Regions from separate parts of the Homo sapiens genome. Here all the other regions are linked to region 6. The links are contacts of gene promoters, found by promoter capture Hi-C in human tissues and cell types (Jung and others, 2019). All regions are on one chromosome and are shown on one strand. Each heading gives the region's core, a stretch centred on a gene start or on the middle of the fragment in contact. The rest is flanking DNA. Distances are from core to core; before and after follow the strand shown.

What was found. Contacts are between HindIII fragments. The study calls those that stand out against the background at their distance.
Region 1: a contact is called between a fragment that was not itself captured here and the fragment with the promoter of SALL1 in region 6, in 2 of the 25 tissues and cell types used here (dorsolateral prefrontal cortex and mesendoderm cells).
Region 2: a fragment that was not itself captured here is called in contact with the fragment with the promoter of SALL1 in region 6 in 3 of the 25 tissues and cell types used here (IMR-90 fibroblasts, lymphoblastoid cells and mesenchymal stem cells).
Region 3: a contact is called between a fragment that was not itself captured here and the fragment with the promoter of SALL1 in region 6, in 2 of the 25 tissues and cell types used here (IMR-90 fibroblasts and dorsolateral prefrontal cortex).
Region 4: a fragment that was not itself captured here is called in contact with the fragment with the promoter of SALL1 in region 6 in 1 of the 25 tissues and cell types used here (dorsolateral prefrontal cortex).
Region 5: a contact is called between a fragment that was not itself captured here and the fragment with the promoter of SALL1 in region 6, in 2 of the 25 tissues and cell types used here (lymphoblastoid cells and mesenchymal stem cells).

Annotation. Positions count from the first base shown.
Region 1 is chr16:51,949,476-51,952,639 of GRCh38, forward strand. No RefSeq gene overlaps it. Among named protein-coding and RNA genes, the nearest start is that of LINC02911, 130 kb to the right of the region's middle. The HindIII fragment of the contact is 3,631 bases long and covers 1-3,164 here.
Region 2 is chr16:51,901,743-51,904,989 of GRCh38, forward strand. No RefSeq gene overlaps it. Among named protein-coding and RNA genes, the nearest start is that of LINC01571, 140 kb to the left of the region's middle. The HindIII fragment of the contact is 4,381 bases long and covers 1-3,247 here.
Region 3 is chr16:51,746,397-51,749,498 of GRCh38, forward strand. All of the region lies in intron 3 of LOC105371257 (a long non-coding RNA gene), which reads right to left. Among named protein-coding and RNA genes, the nearest start is that of LINC01571, 15 kb to the right of the region's middle. The HindIII fragment of the contact is 4,003 bases long and covers 1-3,102 here.
Region 4 is chr16:51,981,267-51,984,637 of GRCh38, forward strand. No RefSeq gene overlaps it. Among named protein-coding and RNA genes, the nearest start is that of LINC02911, 95 kb to the right of the region's middle. The HindIII fragment of the contact is 5,917 bases long and covers 1-3,371 here.
Region 5 is chr16:51,791,521-51,794,609 of GRCh38, forward strand. No RefSeq gene overlaps it. Among named protein-coding and RNA genes, the nearest start is that of LINC01571, 31 kb to the left of the region's middle. The HindIII fragment of the contact is 3,548 bases long and covers 1-3,089 here.
Region 6 is chr16:51,149,328-51,152,790 of GRCh38, forward strand. It overlaps SALL1 (spalt like transcription factor 1), which reads right to left and starts at 1,943. Exons shown (of 3, transcript NM_002968.3): 1 at 1,839-1,943. The coding sequence starts at 1,914. RefSeq lists an enhancer at 1,140-1,640. The HindIII fragment of the contact is 9,229 bases long and covers 1-3,463 here.

The sequences.
Region 1 (3,164 bases), core at 476-2,975, 800 kb after region 6:
CACTCTCACTCTCTGCCTGACATTCACTAGAGGCCACATGTGCATTAGTCTACAGTTCAAGTAACCAGCTCCCGGTGCTGATGAAAGGCAGGAGAAACAAGGGGAGTTACCTTCCACTCTGGCATGGCCAGGGTAAGGGAGGGAATTCCTCTTGGAGAGAAATGATAATCATAACAGCATAAAAATAACACCCAACCCCTTCATCAGCATTGCTAACAACATTAAGAGTTAACTGGCTAACTCTGCAAAAAGGGCTTTAAGTAGATGGCCTCATTAAACATTCGTAACTATCTTTGAGATAAATAGATATTCTCATTTTACAGATGAGGAAACTGAGAATCTAAGGGACCAAGATATTGACAGGAAATCACTCAGCTAAGAGGAGGCAGAGCTGGGTTTGGAGTGCATAAGCCCCAAAGGTTTGTTAGGTGCTATATCAATACACTTTTAGACTGTTTTAAAAATAATTCTAAATTTTTATTTGTTTTGCATGTACCTCATAGCTTACAAACCACTTTCAGATATTAACGTTCCTATTTTAAAGACAGAAAAAAAGTAAAGACAGCTCCAATCAGTATGCAGAAATACACTTCCAAAGAAGTAAACAGAAGGGGAAGGAAGCACTTAATTTCAGCTACTCTTCTCTCCAAAACACACCCCACAGTTACCTAGGAAGGCAGGAAAGAGTTAGTGTGTAAAGGTGCCATAGCCTAGGCTTTTCCATGTTAATGTCCAGCTAATATGGGGTGACTTCAACCATGTGCTGGATGAAAGACAGACAAGGAGGAGGAAGGGGATGAGACAAGCAGGAATGGGCTCTTGGGCCAGACTCTCTGCCCAGGCCCAGCGCTTGACAGGTACCCTGGCAGCCAGAGATATGACGGTGACAGACACAAGACAGTGTGTTATCTCATTCTCTGATTCCATCCACTCAAAGTTAATATAAAACCACCTCACTTAGACATATTATACTTCTCCATGGAAAGGAAAAGCTTCCATTTGAATATAGTCATGGCTGCAAAATCTCTCTTTTTTCAGCTTCATCGACTATCAGGATATTCAAGTCCTGGAGTTGCAATGGAATCCCTGTGGGGAAAGCTCAATTAACTCACTACAGAATGCACACAGAACAAGATGGAGGGAAAAGAGCATGAGAAGGGGGAAAAAAGACATTTCTTTTGAATAATAAAGCTCCAGATTTAAAATTAGACTGTACAATAACAGCCTTAATTCCTGGAAACCCAGATGGGGAATTAAATACATAATATATTGAGAGGAATTTGCTTTCACAGACCTTGAGGATGTAATACGTCTTTTGGCACTTCACACATCCTTGGTGGGTATTTCTGCTGAGTGGAGGAGGCTGTTAACCACCTTTTCATGGAAAACATACCTCCATCTCGAGTCAGAGGTTAAGTTATTCTCTAGCCAAAAGAAGCAATCCATAATGTTTCATTATGGAGCAGGTCTCACAATGAATAGCAGTTGGCAGAGATGGATAACTTAATATGACTCTATTCGGCAGCACTGTAAATGTATCTGTCATCTCCAAGACTGGTTGAAGTGGTCAGACGCCACTTGAGGTCCCAAGCAAAATTCTGGTTGTTTCAGGGGAGGAGCATGGCTGCTGAATGTTCACCTTAATAACAACCACAGCATGAAACATCCCTCAAGCATGTATTTAAGCATCTACTATGTGTCAAGCTACTGAGTAAAAATCTTGGCTTTAACTACTTGCAAACTCTGTAATCTTAGGTGGATAACCACCTCTAGTTCGGTTTTTTCATTTATCAAAATGGGATCAATAATAATATCTGCCTTACAGGGCTGTTGTGCAAAGCTCTTGAGGTAATGACAGGTGTACAGTAAATGCCTAATAAGGGTTAGTTGTTACCTTAACCATCTCAACCAGGGCACAGACTACTGGGAGGCAGGGGGCCTTGCAGGATACAGTGTTTAAGGGGCACTCACTTTCAGGGTCATGCATGCGTGCTTCTCTAAATGTGACACTGCAGAAACCTCACTGGTGTTACTCCAGCACCCGCCTGGATCTCAGCTTTACAGATGTGGAAAGAGAAGCCCAGAGAAAGTGAAGTAACTTACTAAAATCCACCCAGTAGACTATATGCAGAACCTGGATTCACATCCTATCTGTCCCCTACCAGTGGTCATTCTATCATTTGACCATATCACACTGCCTGAAAAGTGAGGTTTCTGGAAATGAAATTTCAACTTCCAAATTCTGGTACTCCATGTCAGGATCCTGAGCAAAACAAAGCAAAACTATCAGATCACGTAGACTTGACACCTGAAGAGACGGTTTATCTGCTGGGACCAAGAGAGTAGAGAATAGCACCCCAACATTAAGAGGCCCCTGCCGAGTCTCTTTCAAGGCCCAATTTAGGTGCTAAATAATGCAAAACTGCTTACCCTTGGAAAGTGGCTGGAGTAATGAGAACTGCATTTCACTGGTCAATAGAAAAAAAAAAAGAAGCGATACATGATTCTCTGGCAAAACCTTCCTTATCAGCTCTGTTGGGGGAAGGAAAAAAAACAAGGCAAATAAATGACAAAAGCAGAGGGAGCATCAATCATGCCATAGTTGGTCTGCCAGTTCCAGCTGCAGGCGTGCAACTCACAGGCCAACCTTTGGCTCAGAGAGGCTGGGCTCACCCCAGCTCCAGGCAGGAGACAGAGGTGTGAGCCTGGTTGGAAACCAGAGCCTCTCCTCCTCTTTGCAGCTCCGCTCCGCCACTTGCTTTCTCTGTGACTTTGGTGAAAGTAGCTAAATGCCTCTGAGTTCCCTAGCCATTTCACAGATCATCACAGCATTCTTTCTCAGCTCCAAAGGCTTGGATCCCCACAAACACAGTAGCAAAAAGAATATTCTGAAATCTCATCTTCTCTCACTTCATCCCTCTATCATTTGGAAAACTTTCTAGATCCTTCATATGTGACATCTTGCCATTGTTGTTTTTTGTGGTTGTTCAGTAAAAAGCAAAAAAAAAAAAAAAAAAAAAAAGAAAAGAAAAGAAAAGCAATAAATAGGCAAAATTTGCATAGCTATAATGAGAAATTTTATCCTTTCAACATAATTCTGAGTGCTTTGATTAGCATCAGCAAACCTATATAGGATGTCCACTTGTTCTTCAAAGCTTTGTAGC
Region 2 (3,247 bases), core at 174-2,673, 750 kb after region 6:
TGGGTCTAATTTGTAATTTTTTAATCCAGTACGAGCTAGGTTAATTTTCAAATTCATGGAAACATTGACTTTTTTTCAAGCCTAATAAGTTACCTAAAGTGTAAGAGGATGAGGACCATGTGTTAAACTACCTGGTTAAGCTAACTGTTATGTTTTCAATGTTTGTGTCTCTCCACAAGTCATGTGGAAACTTAATCCCAAATGCAATAGGATTAAGAGGTAGGGATGTTTGCAGTTGATTAGATCATAAGGAATTCTCCTTTGTAAATGGGTTTCATGGCCTTATAAATGAGGCTTCACATAGCATTCATAATTTTTGCCCTTCCATCTGCTGCCATGTGAGAACACAGAAACAAGGCATCATCTTGGAAGCAGAAGCGAGCCTTCACCAGACACCAGATATGCTGCACCTTGATCTTGGATTTCCCAGCCTCTAGAACTATGAGAAATGAACTTGTGTGGCTTAAAAAATTACTGTTTACAATATTTTGTTATAGTAGTCTGAATAAACTAAGATATTAGTCATCACCTTTCTCATCCATTTTGCAATAAGGCTTATGATTCCAACAAAATGACCACCATGAGGAAAGTAAGCCCACAATGCTTTTACCCCTTTTATTGCTTTTTACTCTTCAATTCTTTTTTCATGGAAACTTGATACATGAACCTTAGGTTTTCCAACAGGGATAATTGATGACTTTAACAACATATCCTAAAGTCAAACCAATGTATCCCATCACAGCAAGGCTGGTAGGAGTTACAGCAAGCTGAAATAACCTAGGTAATGTCCAAAAGTCAGGCAGGAGAGGTCAAAAGTGATCTCTTGCCCAAGGTTCATACAGCTTCTGCCTGGATCATGGTAAATGCTCAATCAATGTGAGTTAGAAAAAAATAAGTAGAGGTATTCACTTAGCTAAGAATTTGACATGGGTTCACAAAACATATATCACAGAGACACTGAAAACATTTACTCTGTATTCTCAGCATTCTTCGTTGCATTCCACGATGGTATGGCATGGTCATAAAAAGCAAACTCTTTGAGGACAGAGAGTCCTGGATTCAAATCATAGGGTTTTCCACATTCTGGCTAAGTAACACTGGGGGTTCCATGTTGCCTTCCTCACTGAGAAGCCATAAAGCTTCAGTGAGATGGTGGTATCTGCATCTTTACTGCTTGCAGCAAGGCATGAAAGATAATAGGGACTTCTTAGACTAAATGTTGCCTTTGTCCATAATTAAATACCTCCCTGGGCAAATATACTGATGAGTAGTAGAATGGACTTAAGCCTCACAAGGAGATAGGGCATGGTATCACATTCTCCATTCAGTTCTGACTATAAGTTCATCTTTTTACAGTAAGAGGTAGGTAGGGGAGGAGATAATGGAGTGAGTAAATTAATGGATTTAAATCTCACTCCTACCATGTACCAGCAGTGTAACCTCAGGTAACCTCTCGAAGCTTTCTTTTTTGGTCTTTAAGATAAACATAATGATAGGGTAAATCTTAAATAATAGGATTAAATAAATTAAAACTCTCAAAGTGCTTAAAACAAGAACTAGCACATAGTTTGCAAGCAATTGATAAATACGAATAAAATTTATTTGACATCTATTGTGTTCTAAATAATTTAAAGATACGACCTAATTTAAGCTACACTACCTTCTTGAGAGGTTACTGTGAATAACCCCATTTTACAGATGAGAAGATTGAGGCTTAGAGTGATCATCTTGCTCAAGGTCACCCAACTAATAAGTGAAAGAGGAAGGATTTGAACATGGGTTGCCTGAGAATTTATTTAATCAGACTGGGGAGTGCTGTGAGAATAAAGTCTAGAAGTTAGAAAGAGGAACCTCTTCATTTTGAGAAACCTATGACTCATGGAAAAGAGAGAGGGTGCTGGCCATGAAGGTAGAATACTAGGTGGGTTGGGTGACAGTGATAGCTACTCTGGCCAACAGTTAGGCACACCTACTTGGAGTAGCTATTATTAATGGGGCAGATACTAGTATCTTCATTTTATTGATTTGGTTAACTGGTTTATCTTAGAAAATAAAGTTGGCACACAAATACTAGTCTGTCTTATTTCTCAGCCTGTATTATAAACCTCTACACTATAAGGTTTAAAGATTTCTGAATACACAATGATGTAGCAATTGGGAATGCCTCATCTTCCAGTCACCTGTCTCTTCCCCTTATTCTTGTCTTGTTATCTGTGATCACTAAGACTCTACAAGCACCCCTCACTAGTTTCCGGAGGAGGAGAAAAGTTTATAGAAGCCAATCCTATAGCTGTGAAAGGAAGCAATCTAGTCTAGACCAGCAAAGTGATGGTGGGTTATGACCAAGGAGAGTTTCATTTTATAATATCTATCAAAAAGATTTTCTTTCTGGGGTGTCATGCAATGATCTAAATCAGATTTACAAACCTCTGTATAATCTATGATGTCAAACACATCTTTTAGCAGGTTGAGTTTCTAGAGCAGGTAACTGTATTTATCAGTCTAGTTATGGTCCTCATTCAGAGATGGATGGTCATGTTACTCAAGACAGGCCAATGATACTACATCCTGGGCTTTTGTTGAAATGGAAAGTATGAGCTATAAGGCTGATGTAAGCTTGGAGCTTTGAGAGGACCAGCATTTTAAGGGGTTCAGCCTGAGAATGAAGCCAGTACATGGGAAAGCAGAACCAAGAGATGGGGCAAGAGATATTGAATCCTAATGGCGTCATGTGAACACTGGGATATATCCTTCTCTGAAGCCAGATAACCTAAACTTTTCAGTTATGTGAACAAAAATCTCCATATTTGTTTACATTTGTTTGTCAAGTTTTTGTTACTTGCATCTGAGAGATCAGAATAATACAGAAAAGAAAATAATAAAATCCAACAATATCAATGATTTCTAATAGGAGAGTCTGATATTCACTCAAATTCACTAATTCCCTAAAACATTCCTAGAGACTTGTCATTTGAATGAAGCTACCTAAAATTACGGTGGGAGGTTTTTTTTTTTCCTTTTTTTTTTTTGACAGTTACATTTCAGCACATGAAATTCTCGGCTACCAGATTACTTTAGACACAAGTTTATAAAAGTGCCTATTTTATAAATATTTCTTGAAGTCCTTTTTGGTTGTTGTTACAAAGGAGATTGCATAACTTGTTAATTAAGTGTGAACGAGGGTTTCCTGGGAGAGTGAAATGACCACTGATCTATATGGTTCAGTCACAGTGGACTTAATATTCAA
Region 3 (3,102 bases), core at 188-2,687, 600 kb after region 6:
ATTCTCAGATTTTTAGTTACCTAAAGATGTGGGAATTTATCTTCAAGCTGACACACTACTGAATATAATTACTGTTGAAATAAGTAGTTTGTGAGAATAAAATGATTCAATTTAGTTAAACATAAAGTTATATTTACATTTTTCATAATTTAAACATAATAGAATGTATAAGTTTAGGAAAATATACCCAAGCATAATAAAAATATTTGCTTGTATTATAATTGACATGGAAGAAAAGAGAAGATACAGTGGTTTTTAATAAACAAAAATTATTAAACTAGTCTTGTTTGCCAAAGATTTGCCTTAATTATATGAAATTCAGTTACTAAAGTATTTCTGAGTTATTTCTGTAAGGATATTTTTCTTGTAAGTATACAATAGTATCAGAAATTTAAAGTATTAGAAATTTAATTTTCTTACATTTGGGAATTTTAGGAACATTTAATCTGCACATATACATATTTAGCTTTATAAACCAATTAGAACAGAATTCCTTTCATTTAAGACACCTTACAATATAATTTATTAATATTCTTGGGAAATATGGAAACATTACATATGCACTTAGAGTAAAGTCTTGTCTGAATTGCAGACATGACGTGTAGACAGGGAGACACGTAGAAAACTTGAAGCTTCTATTCTATAATTTCAGCCAAAGATCAAGAGAAAATCCAGAACACAAAAGCTCACCAGTCTGACTATCAAGGAGCTGTTCCCCTTCCTGGTAGGCAAAAAAGTCTTATTTGATTTGAACTAAAAATAAACAAACAGACAAAGGATAATGACTAGCAAGCCAGATTCTGTCATCTCTCACCTAATGGAGACTGGATCTCAACCGACCATTAATCTACATCCAGAGATCACCAAATGCTCTGACCACAAAACTAAATTCCCAAGTCATTATTTCCACCCATGGAAAATAACTTATTAGCCATAGACACAGTAAAAGCAAAAACAAAGAATAAAGCAAAGAAGAAAATTAAAATCAGAAAAGAGGAGAATCAGCAAAGTATTTGTGCCAATTCAGATTCATCTGATTCAGACTGAGAGCTAAGCAATGACATGCGTGGGCTTAAGCTGTCATGAAGTTCACCCTTTGACAGTGAACGTTAATCAGCTCTGACAGGTGAATCCACTGGACATCTGGAAGTATCTTGCAAACTGTCAAAATATAATTTTCAAACAAAGGTATAATTACAACACTCATACACATAAAAAATGAACATACGTCAACGATTTTATATAACATGCTATTAGATGAAGGAACAAGGTAGATGCTATAACAGGGTCAAAGGAGAATTCAAACAGTCACATTTATGGATCAGGAATATTGAAATGAATTTGCAAACAGATGCAAAACTGGCTTTTCCGTGGTAGTGATGATGCTAGTGTGATGGTGGGTGGGGAGTGTGGGTGAAGGAATGTTGTTTCTCCACTGGATAGAATTCGTTTGCATGCTCGTAGACAAAAATCAATTGCATTGCCATCAGTTCTCCACAACTTACGGAGCTGTAACACAGCTCAAAGTCAATGCAAGGCCAGGATCAGATTACCCAGACAGGTGTCTTCTAAACAGTGAATAATTTCCTATTGGAGACACTCAATGATGTTTTTTGCTTATTCCAAATTTCCTTATTATGAATGTGGCCAGAGTCTGACTGGCTTTGAGAAAATAGGATGTTCCTACCAAAAGCATCCCGGCAAGTATTCAGATTATCCATTGCAGTTAAAGGAAGAGATTGAATTTAACAGCTATGTACAGCTACTACGTCCAATGTAATGTGCTAGGCTATGTTTCAAGGATTGAAAAATGAATAAGACATTGGAACTAGTTCTTACTTGTGCTCAATGAGACCATGCTTAATTTGCCGCAGAAAGGCTTATTACCAGTCATCTATTGCTGTGTAACAAAGCACCCAATTGTGGCTGAAACAATAAACATTTACTTAGCTCATAAATGCATAGGATGATTGACAGTTTCTTTTGGTCTGGGATAGGCTCAGCAGATTTTAGCTGCCATTGCTCATGCGTCTGCTGTTACTTGATAGATCAGTTGGGAATTGCCTTGTCTAGGATGGCCTCCCCTGGGACAATTCTCCTCCACATGGTCTCTCATTCTTCAACAGGCAAATATGGGCTTCTTCCATGGTGTCCATGGTAGGGACCAAGAGAGTACCGAGAGCGGAATGTGAAGGCAAGGTCCTTTCTTCTGCCAAAGCAAGTGACAAAGCCATTCCAGATTCAAGGGCCGGAGAAAGAGTATCCACTTCTTGATGTGAAGAATACATTACCAGGACATGGTTACAGTAGGAGTTCTGCTGATGACTGCAATTAATCTACCACAGGCTCTTAACTCATGCAAGTTCACTCTCTAGGGCAGGAGGGAGCCGTGACATAAAAACCTGCCTCACAAAAGAGACTTTGATAGATGCTGCCCAAAGGCTCATACCACCACCATATAATAACGGAACAGGAAAAGGCTGACTTGAGAATATCTGGGAAAGTTTTATACATGTGTGATATGAGCTGAGTTTTGAAAGATGGGCAGAAAACTTCCTTTAAGGGGAGTGGGAAGAGGAGTTGGAGATAACTGAAGGGAGGCCAAGAAGCCCAGTAATTAAAACGGAAATTTATAACCACACTCACTTTTCAGGCACATATGTATAACTAAGGCCATGATAACATCCACAGAGAAATGGTATAGGGTTAAAAAAACACAACTCGGTTCAAATCTTTTCCCAATTAAAGGCAGAATAAATTTGAGCAAGTCACTTTTCCTTCCGAATTTCCTTTCTTCATCATAAAATCCATATTCTGATTTGACAACATTAAAACTTAAAAGATTAAAAAAAAAAACTTGTGTAGGACCTTGTAAACAAAATTAAAACTCAAACGAAAGACCAAGATATAATGTATTTAATCACTAAGGCGTTAGTATTAATGAAAGTTCTACAAATTAAAAAGAAAATGAGAAATGATTCGAAAATCGACATTTGCAAATTATGTGAACAGGAAATGCTATGAAAGTGAAATATGAGTGGCTAATAAACTTATACAAAGGTGATCTATTATTCATTACTAATTGAAAAAACACAAATAAAA
Region 4 (3,371 bases), core at 239-2,738, 830 kb after region 6:
AAATTTCCAAGATTTTGAAATCAGCCTTTGTTTTCCACTTTTTGGCATTTCTGAAACTGGGATGTACCCTACAATTGATGTGTAAGTTTAATCTGGCAGTGATTCTTTCTTCTTCTTCTTCTTCTTCTTTTTTTTTCCCCTTGGAGGGCTATTATTGGATCAATGGTGTGTGTTACAGTCAGCAGCATCTTAGGATCAAGGAAACAGAGTGTGCACACTTGTGGGAAATATGAGCATGGATGTGTGTACTTGCTTGTCTGGGTATTTCCACTCATTAGCTCCTTTTTACTACTAAATGCACACCAACACAGCCCTAGGGTCCTGGTAGGGCCCATGGTCCAGACTCCACTAGCCAGCCTACAGTCTTCAAGGAAAGCTACAGCCCTACACGATCAGTTTCTATTCTAAAGGGAGAAGCCTCCATAAGCTCCCAGCATCATCAATAAGCCAAGAAAACCCTGCGATTATCATTGTTGCTATATCCCTTGGTGCTCAGAGGATACCCTCAGAAGAGTTCAAACTCTTAGAGGTCCACGTTCCTCTCTGTGCCTTGTCCCTCTCTCTGTCAGCTCAGAGGGACAACCTCTCTGATCTGGCACAGAAACTCTCTCTTATCTGGCACAGAGGGGGACAGAGTCTGAGCCAGCACAGAGAGGGACAAGGACACAGGCCACATGCCTCTGTTCTGGGTTCCTATTGGAGACACCAAGGCCAGGTACTAAACTTATGCAAGAGGGAGCCGTCTTCTGCAAGTGAGGAAAAGGCTTCAGCATTTAAGCAGGATTTCTTTACAAATTCCTTAATTTCACCTTCCTGAATTTTACACTGAATTTTGTCAGTTTATAAATTTGCACTATAGCTCGGCACTGGGAAGAGGAGGGGGGCAGATAATCAAACCTACGGGCGTTTTACACACAGACACTGAAAAATAAAGACCATTAGCAAAAAGTATAATTAAATTAAAATGCCAACTTGCCAAGGAAGCTCAGTAAATGGGAAATATATCAAACTGTGATAATACAAATGGGCTATTTCTCAAGATGTGAGAATGTCAATGGAATAAACTCTGATAATTTGCTGACTTTTTATGCTGAAGGTAGAGTAATACCTTAAAAATAAATGACCACAATAACACACACACACACACACACACACACACACACAAAACCGTGCAGTATGTGCACAACTGTTTAACCATGCTAATATCACAAGCCTAGGAGCCCCCAGGGCTGGAAGATCTAGAAAAATCACTTAAAGCCCAATTTCTCCTTTTGGGTGAGTTGGCCAGACTCCAAATCCCAGCAGAAATTTTTTATTAGTCACTGGATCTACTTTCTTAGGTCCACTCAGCCTAATTTATTTTGAATGCGTGTTTGCCAGTTAAGTTTAACATATCCAGTTAACGATAGCTGAATATTCTCTAAAAACAATCTTATAATGAAGCTACGGTTCTTTGTAGAATATTGAAAATTACTTTTGGCATGCAAGTTCGTTTCCTTAATTCCTCTTTTAGTGTGCAAATAACCTTTGAAAACCTGCTTCTAGGTGTTTATGTGTCAGGACAGTATCAAAAATTATTCAATTGCCAAGTCACATGTCAACACTTCTACTACAAAGCCTCTGAGAACCCTGATTCTCACTACTCTGCTGCCCTCTAGTGGAAACCTGACAAATCCTCGCCTTCATTTCAATTTATTTATTTCAATGGAAGCATCGAATGGAAAACTCTTTGCATCACACCTTGATGGTAAGAGGCACTTTAGAAGTAGCAAACTTTAAATGACCTGAAAACTGGAGACTCAATTGAAATCCCTTGGAAGAACATTTAACGGAGGTGAGGCTGTCAAATATTTTCTAGTTATTTATCTAAGAATCACCTGCAGCTACAGCCATGCCTTGGAAAAAAAAGACGGGGGGCAACCCCTATGTTCATGTGATGGGCTCAATAGACTGTCTGCTCACGGGATGTTTGGGAATGGCTCAGTCTCTCAATTCTAGAATCACAGTGCACAGGCCAGAGTGTCAGGGGGAGAAGGGACATTTAAAGTTCAGTCATCCTACTGCTGGATGATTTCAAGCAACATAACTGAAATATTCAAATTCTTAGTTGAATTAAAGAAAAATCACTACATATATAACAGTACAGCAGGTATGCAGTTATCACAATGACGTGCAATTGATGAGTCATTTCATTTCCTTCCGTCATCTGATGAGAAGACAGACGCCCAAAGAGGGGAAGGGACTTGCCTAGCACCCACAACTAATAGGTGGCATAGCTGTCACCAGAACCCGTGTCCTGTGATTCATAGTTCAGGTATTTCCCTGTTACAACATTACAACAGGTGCCTTCAAAATTTATTTTTTACTTCTATGTTCGCAGCATGTGTGAAACACATTTTCATAATGTTGCAATGGACATTAACAAGTAACCTGACAAATAAGAACTGAATTATGGAACCTTATGGAACAATTACTTTTAGGAATAAATTAGAGTGGATTCCAGTTTATTCCCATAACTGCATCACTCTTGGAATCCATGAGTGGTTTGCAAGTGGTGCAAATACAGCCACGAGGAACTGTTCATGTGAGAAATAGAAATTTCGATTCATAAATACTGATGTGTGAGAAATGTAACTTTCTTTAAAAACTCAGTTTCTATTTAGACTCCCATCTCACTGAGTGATGGAAGCTTACTTTCAGTTGATTCAGTGTTGGTCTGTCTTCCCACTTTATCTGGATTTGAGTAGAGGGACCAATGTAGTAGGAAAGCACCAGAGAGACAGGTGCAGCCCTAGTCCCCAGTGTCATCATTTCTTCAAGGTGGCACCCGTGAGATTTCCTCATCCCTGTCAGGCGCTCCGTCAACAGTCTTGAGGCCTGCCAACCCCATCAGCTCCTGAATTAAACCCAGCATGCCCCCAGTGCCTAGGAAACTTCCACTGCTTCCCCACCATGAGCTGCCCTGTTGACCCAGGCATGGCACGTGGTTGTGTACACCCTGGAAGTTTTGTCCCCACCCCCAGTCTCTACTTGAGAAGAAGCATGATATTTTTGCTCTTGGATCTCCTCACTGATGTGAGGTTTCCATTGCCAGCACACCCACCATACACCCCACCCACCTAAAAACTGCATTTATGTGGCAAAAGGCAAGGCCATTCCTCAAAGACCCACCAGCATCAAACACACCTCATTCATTAATTCGGTCAATATTTGTTGAGCTTCTTCCCTTTGCACTGAAGATAACCCCATGAGTAGACTGACCAGGTACCAGCCCCAAAGGGGCTCACAACTTAGTGATGAGCATACCATTAAACAAGCAAAATGTACACACAATGACCTCAAGAAAGAGTGGGAAGAAAGTGATGAGGGGT
Region 5 (3,089 bases), core at 198-2,697, 640 kb after region 6:
TTAATCTGACACCAATCTAGAAACTGCTGTGAAGGAATCTTGCACATGTCATTAAAGTTCCAAGTCAGCTGACCTTGAGGTGGGGAAAGTTATCCAGGTGGGCTGTGTCCAGTCAGGTGAGCCCTTTAAAGGCAGAAATTTTTCTCCAGTTGGTGGAAGAAGGACTAGGGGAAAGATCTGAAGCCTAAAAAAGACTCAGTGTATCAATGTTGACTTTGAAGATGGAGGGGCCACATGAGAAAGATCGTAGGCAGCCTCTAGAAGCCAGAAAAGTGGGACCTCAGTTCTACAACCAAAAGAAATGAATTTTTGCAACAACGTCAATAAGTTTGTAACTGGATTTCTCTCTGGAGCCAGTGGATGAGGACTTAACTTGGCCAATATCTTGATTTTAGTCTTCTCTTACTTTGAGCAGAGAACTCAGCCATGCCATGCCAGACTTCTGACCTCCAGAACTGTGAACTAATAAATGAGTATTGTTTCAAGCTGTTAAATTTGTAGCCATTTATATGCAGCAATAGGAAACTAATATAACTTGAAAGAATATGGCAGCTGGAATATGGAATTTGAGTATTTGGAGTTACATGAGATCTAATCATTTGGAATGAACAAAATAGTTGATGTAGGAGAGAGAGGAGAGAGCCTTTGGAGGAAGATTCAGCTCAGTGAAGAAGAAAAAGTTCATTGAAAGAAAGAAGAAACCTGACTAATAGATAATTAGTAGAGACCAGGGAAGACATTAAAAATGAAAGGGAAGATGGATAGACAATTCCATGGAGGATGATGGAAAGCCACAGAAGAGGTTCATGCTGCTAAGTGACAGGGGGTTACATGGCAAGATTATTACTTAGAAGCATGTTTGCACATTTTATTATTTGAAGGCATTGTTGAGACAATATAATTTAATCCTTCAATTATTTTGTAAGATACATATTTAGAGATGAAGGAAGAATATGTGGATTGATCATGGTTACAGGCAAATTAATTTCTGAGTCAAGACCGCAATTCACATCTCCTGATGGCTCCTTTTATTTTGCCAAACTCCTTTGGTACTAGGGCCAGTTCCCTAAGGAAGAGGAATAGCTTACATTGTCACTGGGAAGAGGGCAGAGGCCTGCACAAAACAACTGGACGGTTGATACCGTAGCTTTGCGAGATTAAGCCAAGCCAAGATATGATGACTTTTGCTCCCTAGCCATCTACAAAGTCCTTCACATTGTCACAAAGCCAAATGCAATTAGCACGCAGGGCACGATCTTCCAGGGAGCCTCAAACCTGATTAACGGGTTAGAAAATAGGGCCTGTGGAGCGAGATGATATTGGGAAGCTTGTGCCTGGCAACAAGGTTAAAGGATGACCGGATGGGGAGGGCAGAGCGAGGCTTGCAAGGTGCACAAACTGAACTGCCCTTCCTAGGGCGCGCGCGCGCGCGCACACACACACACACACACACACACACACACACACACACACTAGGTCTGGCCCTGTTAAGCAGTTCCTCTTCTATGTGGTTTTGTTTATTAAATAAATTACGGTTTATTAACCTCAAAGCCACTGCCTTCCCCTCAAGAAACTAAATAGAATATTAGTTCATGCAAAAGATCCTGTTGTTCAGATTGGAAGAGAAGTTACCCATGGGCTGGTATCTGTTTCCATGGGAACCAAAAATAAATATTGATACTGCGTTAATGGTCTGTGTCTCACTTAAGCTCCATTAAATTTCGAGCACTTGCAAGAAAACAGCCCATTGATGGCCCAGCTGAGGGAGAAGGAAGAGGCTTTATAAAAAGCAACAGTGTGGAAGGCACACGGGGTGCAGGCAGGACTTCTGAGTGCTTCTCAACCAGGAAGCTCTTTATGGAATTCTTCCAACCGAGGAGACCTACTTAGGTGCACTCAAAATTGCTGCTTAAGATGCTAGTTGCAGACTGAATAGATTTTTGTGAACCTGTCCTTTTAATAAAGAATAGTTGTATGTTTTACAAAGCTGATCTGTAGACAACAATATTTTCCAGGAACCCACATGCCCAAAACACAATCAACAAATGGACTGAGAGTCCAAATTAGAATATTTCTTTCTATACCAGTTTTCCCAAAGCAATTCAAGTGCAGACACTGAGGTCAGTATTGTTGCCTTTTATATTTATAATCCTGCTTTTAGGAGCAAAGTATTGGATTTATTGCATGAAAGTAGTTTACAGCTTTAAGTACTGCTACTCCTTGGAATAAGGAACATCACAGCCTGCTTAATTTACACAAAGGATGTTAGGACTATTTAATGGCATGTAAACATTTTATAAGGCAAGTTCAAATTGCAGGTGATATTTAATATACTTTAGCAAAATGGACCACAAATGGATTCTAGTTCTTATTTATTGGCCCAATCTTTCTTATGGCATCAAAAGTGAATCGAGTTTTAAAAGGTGTTAAGAGTTTTCAGTACAGTTCGTGACACTGGGCACAATAGGTAAGGCTGCATAAAACAAGCAACATGTGAATTAATTCCAGAACCAGAGAAGCTATGAACCTCTGAATCAGACTTTATCGTGTGGCTTCTGGGGCTCTGTCAATAGGAGTTCTTGTGCCCTTGGTCCCTAGAAGAGCTCAAAGCCCCAAAAGGAGCTGCCAAGATGAGCACTGGGGAAGAATATCGTCCAGAGAGTGTGGTTTCTTGTCATGAAAAACCACCAAGGAGAAAAGCCCTCCCTAGCAAAATGGAGATTTAGGAAGTATCATTAAGCTAGCGATGAGAGTCCTAAGTTATCATAAGAATGCAAAATAATCTGTGTTATAAACTTCCAAAGCCTCTGAATGGTAGACGTATGATTCTTGCCTAGAATTTCTTTAGGAAACACCCCTCACCTTGTACATTTTATCAAAGCCCATGTGCTAAGGCCAGGCCAGTGCCACCCCTAACCCCTGATCTGAGGCTGTGCTGGGACCTGAGCACACCGGCTAACAGTTCAGGAAAGACTTGCAATCCACGCTGGTTTAGGAAAAGCACTCAAAGACTGTGGTTGTGGTTCTGTAACTGAACCAAAATTTGTTCAGTTGCCTGCGAGCAACAGAAAGCCAGACACCAAAGAACC
Region 6 (3,463 bases), core at 693-3,192:
TAGTTTGCTTTTTTGTGTACAAACTGTTAACCTGAACAGTTTTCCGGTGCAAAAGGTCTCACCAGAAACTTTAGGAAAGATGAGTGTGACTGCGGGAAGCAGAAGAAACTAAGCTGAGAAAACCCGGAAAAATACTCGGCGCAGCTGCTGCGGCCTTGGGTCATCTCACCTCCATCTACCCCGCGTGCTCGCTTTCGCTTGGGGTGGAAAGCGGGGTTCAGGGGCTCTTTTCAGCGGACTGAGAAATCGCAGAGGCCGTGGGTAAGGATTCAAGCTTGAGGAAACACTGGGGGCCGGGAGGAGGGCTATTGTAAAGCATTTCTTAATTAATTTCAAGTCCTCCATTTTTTTACAGGGACCCCAAGTCAGGATTCCCCTTTCCCGACATCAGGGGTAAAGGGAGCGGGGGTCCCTTCGCTTCACTGTGCCCCAGCTCTACCGAGAGGCAGGCCTCTGGGAAACGAGCCGGGGACCTGGGGGCCCGGGCGGCCGCAGCTTAGTGGGCTGAGGTGCCGATCAGGGTCACGCTTCGGAGCTCTGTCGGGGCCCAGCTCCCTCCTTCACACCCCAAAATGCCGCCTAGGGCGTGGGCATCCCGAGTGGCATCCGGAGCCGCTGAGACCCCGCCGAGATTGCTCCTTGTGCGTCCTCCCACAGCCGAGAGGCCAGCATCGTGCCGGGACGACCCGGGGACCCGAGTCCGGGCGCCGCTACACCGCCTCGGGCGCTAGGCCTGGGAGCTTTGAGGCCGGTACCGTGAAACACCTTTAGGAGCAAGGAGGGATTCCAGGTGTCCTCCCTTTGTACCCCAACTCCCTGCCCGGATCTCTTCCACTCTCTGCCATAGCCCCCACACACAAACTTTGTTCTGGACTTGTTCAGCCCCTTCGGGACCCACAGTTGTCGCCTCCATCGGAGAAAACAAGTGCCCCTGTTTCAGGGGGGATTCCACTCTGGCTGGCCACCCGCAAACCTGGAAAACTATTCTATGACTTCTTCCCTGACCCCCCTGGAAGTAGGGAGCACCACGATCCGCAGAGGGCGCATACCGACCAGAAAGATTTTGGGGGGCAGAGGGTGCAAGTGTTGTGGGAAGAGATGCGGAGATAAATTTTGCGAGCCAGACCCCGACACTTTCCCCGTCCGTTTGCACCGTCTCCGGAACAACTGGCGGCCAGCAGCACTCTCCACCCCGGCCGCAACCCCAGCGGGTCAGGCGCTGGCGCCCCGACACCAGTCCCCATCTTCTTGCAGCTCTGAACCTCCAAAGACACCCGGTTCTGCCTCGCAGGCCGAGGGGGAGTGTGCGTGGGGGCAGGGGGGCGCAGCGAACTCCCCCACGCTCGGAGTTCAGCCCAGCGCCCGAAGTAAACTTCCTTACCGCTGGCAGCAAGGCCGGGCGGCGGAGGCCGGGCCGGGTGCCCTGGGGCCGGCGCCGGGAGCGCTAGGGGCCCCGTGCGGTCAGGCCGGGGCGACCTCCACCCGCACCCACGCCTCATGGGGCTCCCGGGTCTTGGCCGCGGCTGGGATCCCCGGAAAAGCAGGGACGGAGAAGCCAGGCCGGCATGCCCGCCCTCCTTCCCCCGGGAGGACCCAACAACTCCGGAAAGATCCTGCCGGGAGATGTGCTCGCTTTCCCCGGGGCAGCGGGGGAAAGCCCAGCAAAGGCACATTGAAAATTAAAAAGAAAAAAAAAATTACGCCGAGTGGAAGAAGCAATCGGGGCCGCGGCGGCGGTGAGGTAGGGGGCGCGGGGGCCAGCCGCGTGTGAGTGGGTCCGAGTGTGCGTGAGTGTGAGTGCGTGTGTGTGTGTCCACGGCGCGGGCCGGAGCACTCACCATCTCGCCGGGGGAGCGAGGCCACTTCGGGGTCGGATTGGAAATGTTGAGGCTTCGCTTGCTTCCTCCGCGACATGCTGGCTCAAACATCAGCTGGGGCAGAATAAAAAATTACTAAAAAAAAATCTTCTCAAAATTACGGAAATCGAGCGGCGGCGGCGGCGGCGGCTCCCCCCGCCCGCCGGCCCGCCCGCCCCCTCCCCGGCTCCCCGGCCCCGGGCGCAGCGCGCATGTGTCCTGCTATAATTATGATTATCAATAATGCATTGCGATTAATCATAGAGGGGCTCTTTGAAAGGCGATTGGCACCGGGCCAGCGCTATTCAAACCCGCTCGCCTTAATCAATTAGTTCGTGATTTGCTGCAGACCCCTGTCTCTCCGCGCGCTGGCCCAATAAGCCGGCCGCGGGGCTGGCTCTGCGCGCCGCGCCGCCCGACACTGGGTTAACCCTCTTTGCGACCGCCCGGGACTCCGCGGCCCGGCCGCCGGGGGCCGGCCTCCTCTCCACTGCGGGCCCGGCGCCCCGGCAGGCGCCCCCCGCTCTCTCCCTCTCCCCTCCCTCTTCCCTCCCTCCTTCGCCCCCCCCCACAATCCCGGGCTGGGCCGACCCAAATTAGCATGCCCTCCCCGGAATTGAGCCGCCCCGGGTGGGGGGTGGGGCCGGGCGGCGAGGGCTGGGGACCCGGGCTGCCGGCGCGCTGCGAACTTCCCAACTCGGGGGCGAGGCGCGCCGGCCCGCGGGGGGAGGGAGTCCCGCGGCGGGATCAGGGGGGAGGGCGTCCCGTTTCGTGAGTGTTTCTTCGTTTCTTTAAGAGCTACCAGAAAGCAGCCCACCCCCACCCCCATTAAAAAAAAAAATAAGCGAGTGGGGAAGAGCCAGCCCCACGCCGGTCCGCCTCCCGCCCACGGCTCGGCCTCCCTCCCGCCTGGCTCGGCGCTCCTCCGCCCCGAGTTCTCCATCCCCTGGATCCCGGGCTCGCGGGGGCGCGGAGAAGAGGATCCAGGAAAGGTTTGGGAACCTGATGGGTTTGTGGCTGGGGGGAGGGGCAGTTCTCCCGCCACCCCATCCCCTCCCCGCCAGGGGCACTGATCCTCCAGCTTCTTGCTTGCTCCCTCGCTCCCTTTCTCTACCTCGGACATTCCCAGGACAATTAGGGCTGAAGTTTTCGGGAGAAGCAGCCCCGAGCCCGTGGGATAAGGGGGCGGCCCGGCTCCGCCCAGGACCCCTCCCGGACCTCCCCCCCGGCTGCCCCGGTTGGCTGCAGGGCGCGTCACTCCGCGGGGAGGCGGCGGCAGCGGTGGCGCCGCAGAGCCCCGGGCGGGCGGAGAGCGGGGACCGGCCTGGGCTCCGAGTTCAGCTCCGGCCGGGGGGAGGGGAGGGGCTGCGGCTCACACTGAGCGCAGCAGCGAGCACCGGCCTAGGGAGACACAGCCCGGGCGGACCCGGCACTGGACTGGGCCAGTCCCTGGGACCCCTGGGCACCCCGCCCTGGGGAGGGGGCCGCGCCCCAGCCTTCCGGGACGAGGTGGCGGCGCAGAGCCGGAAAGCGGGGTGGGGGGAGGGCGGTGGGGAGGTGTTCTGTCCGAGGCTGCCTGGCGGCGCCGAAGCTCGCCTCCACTTTTT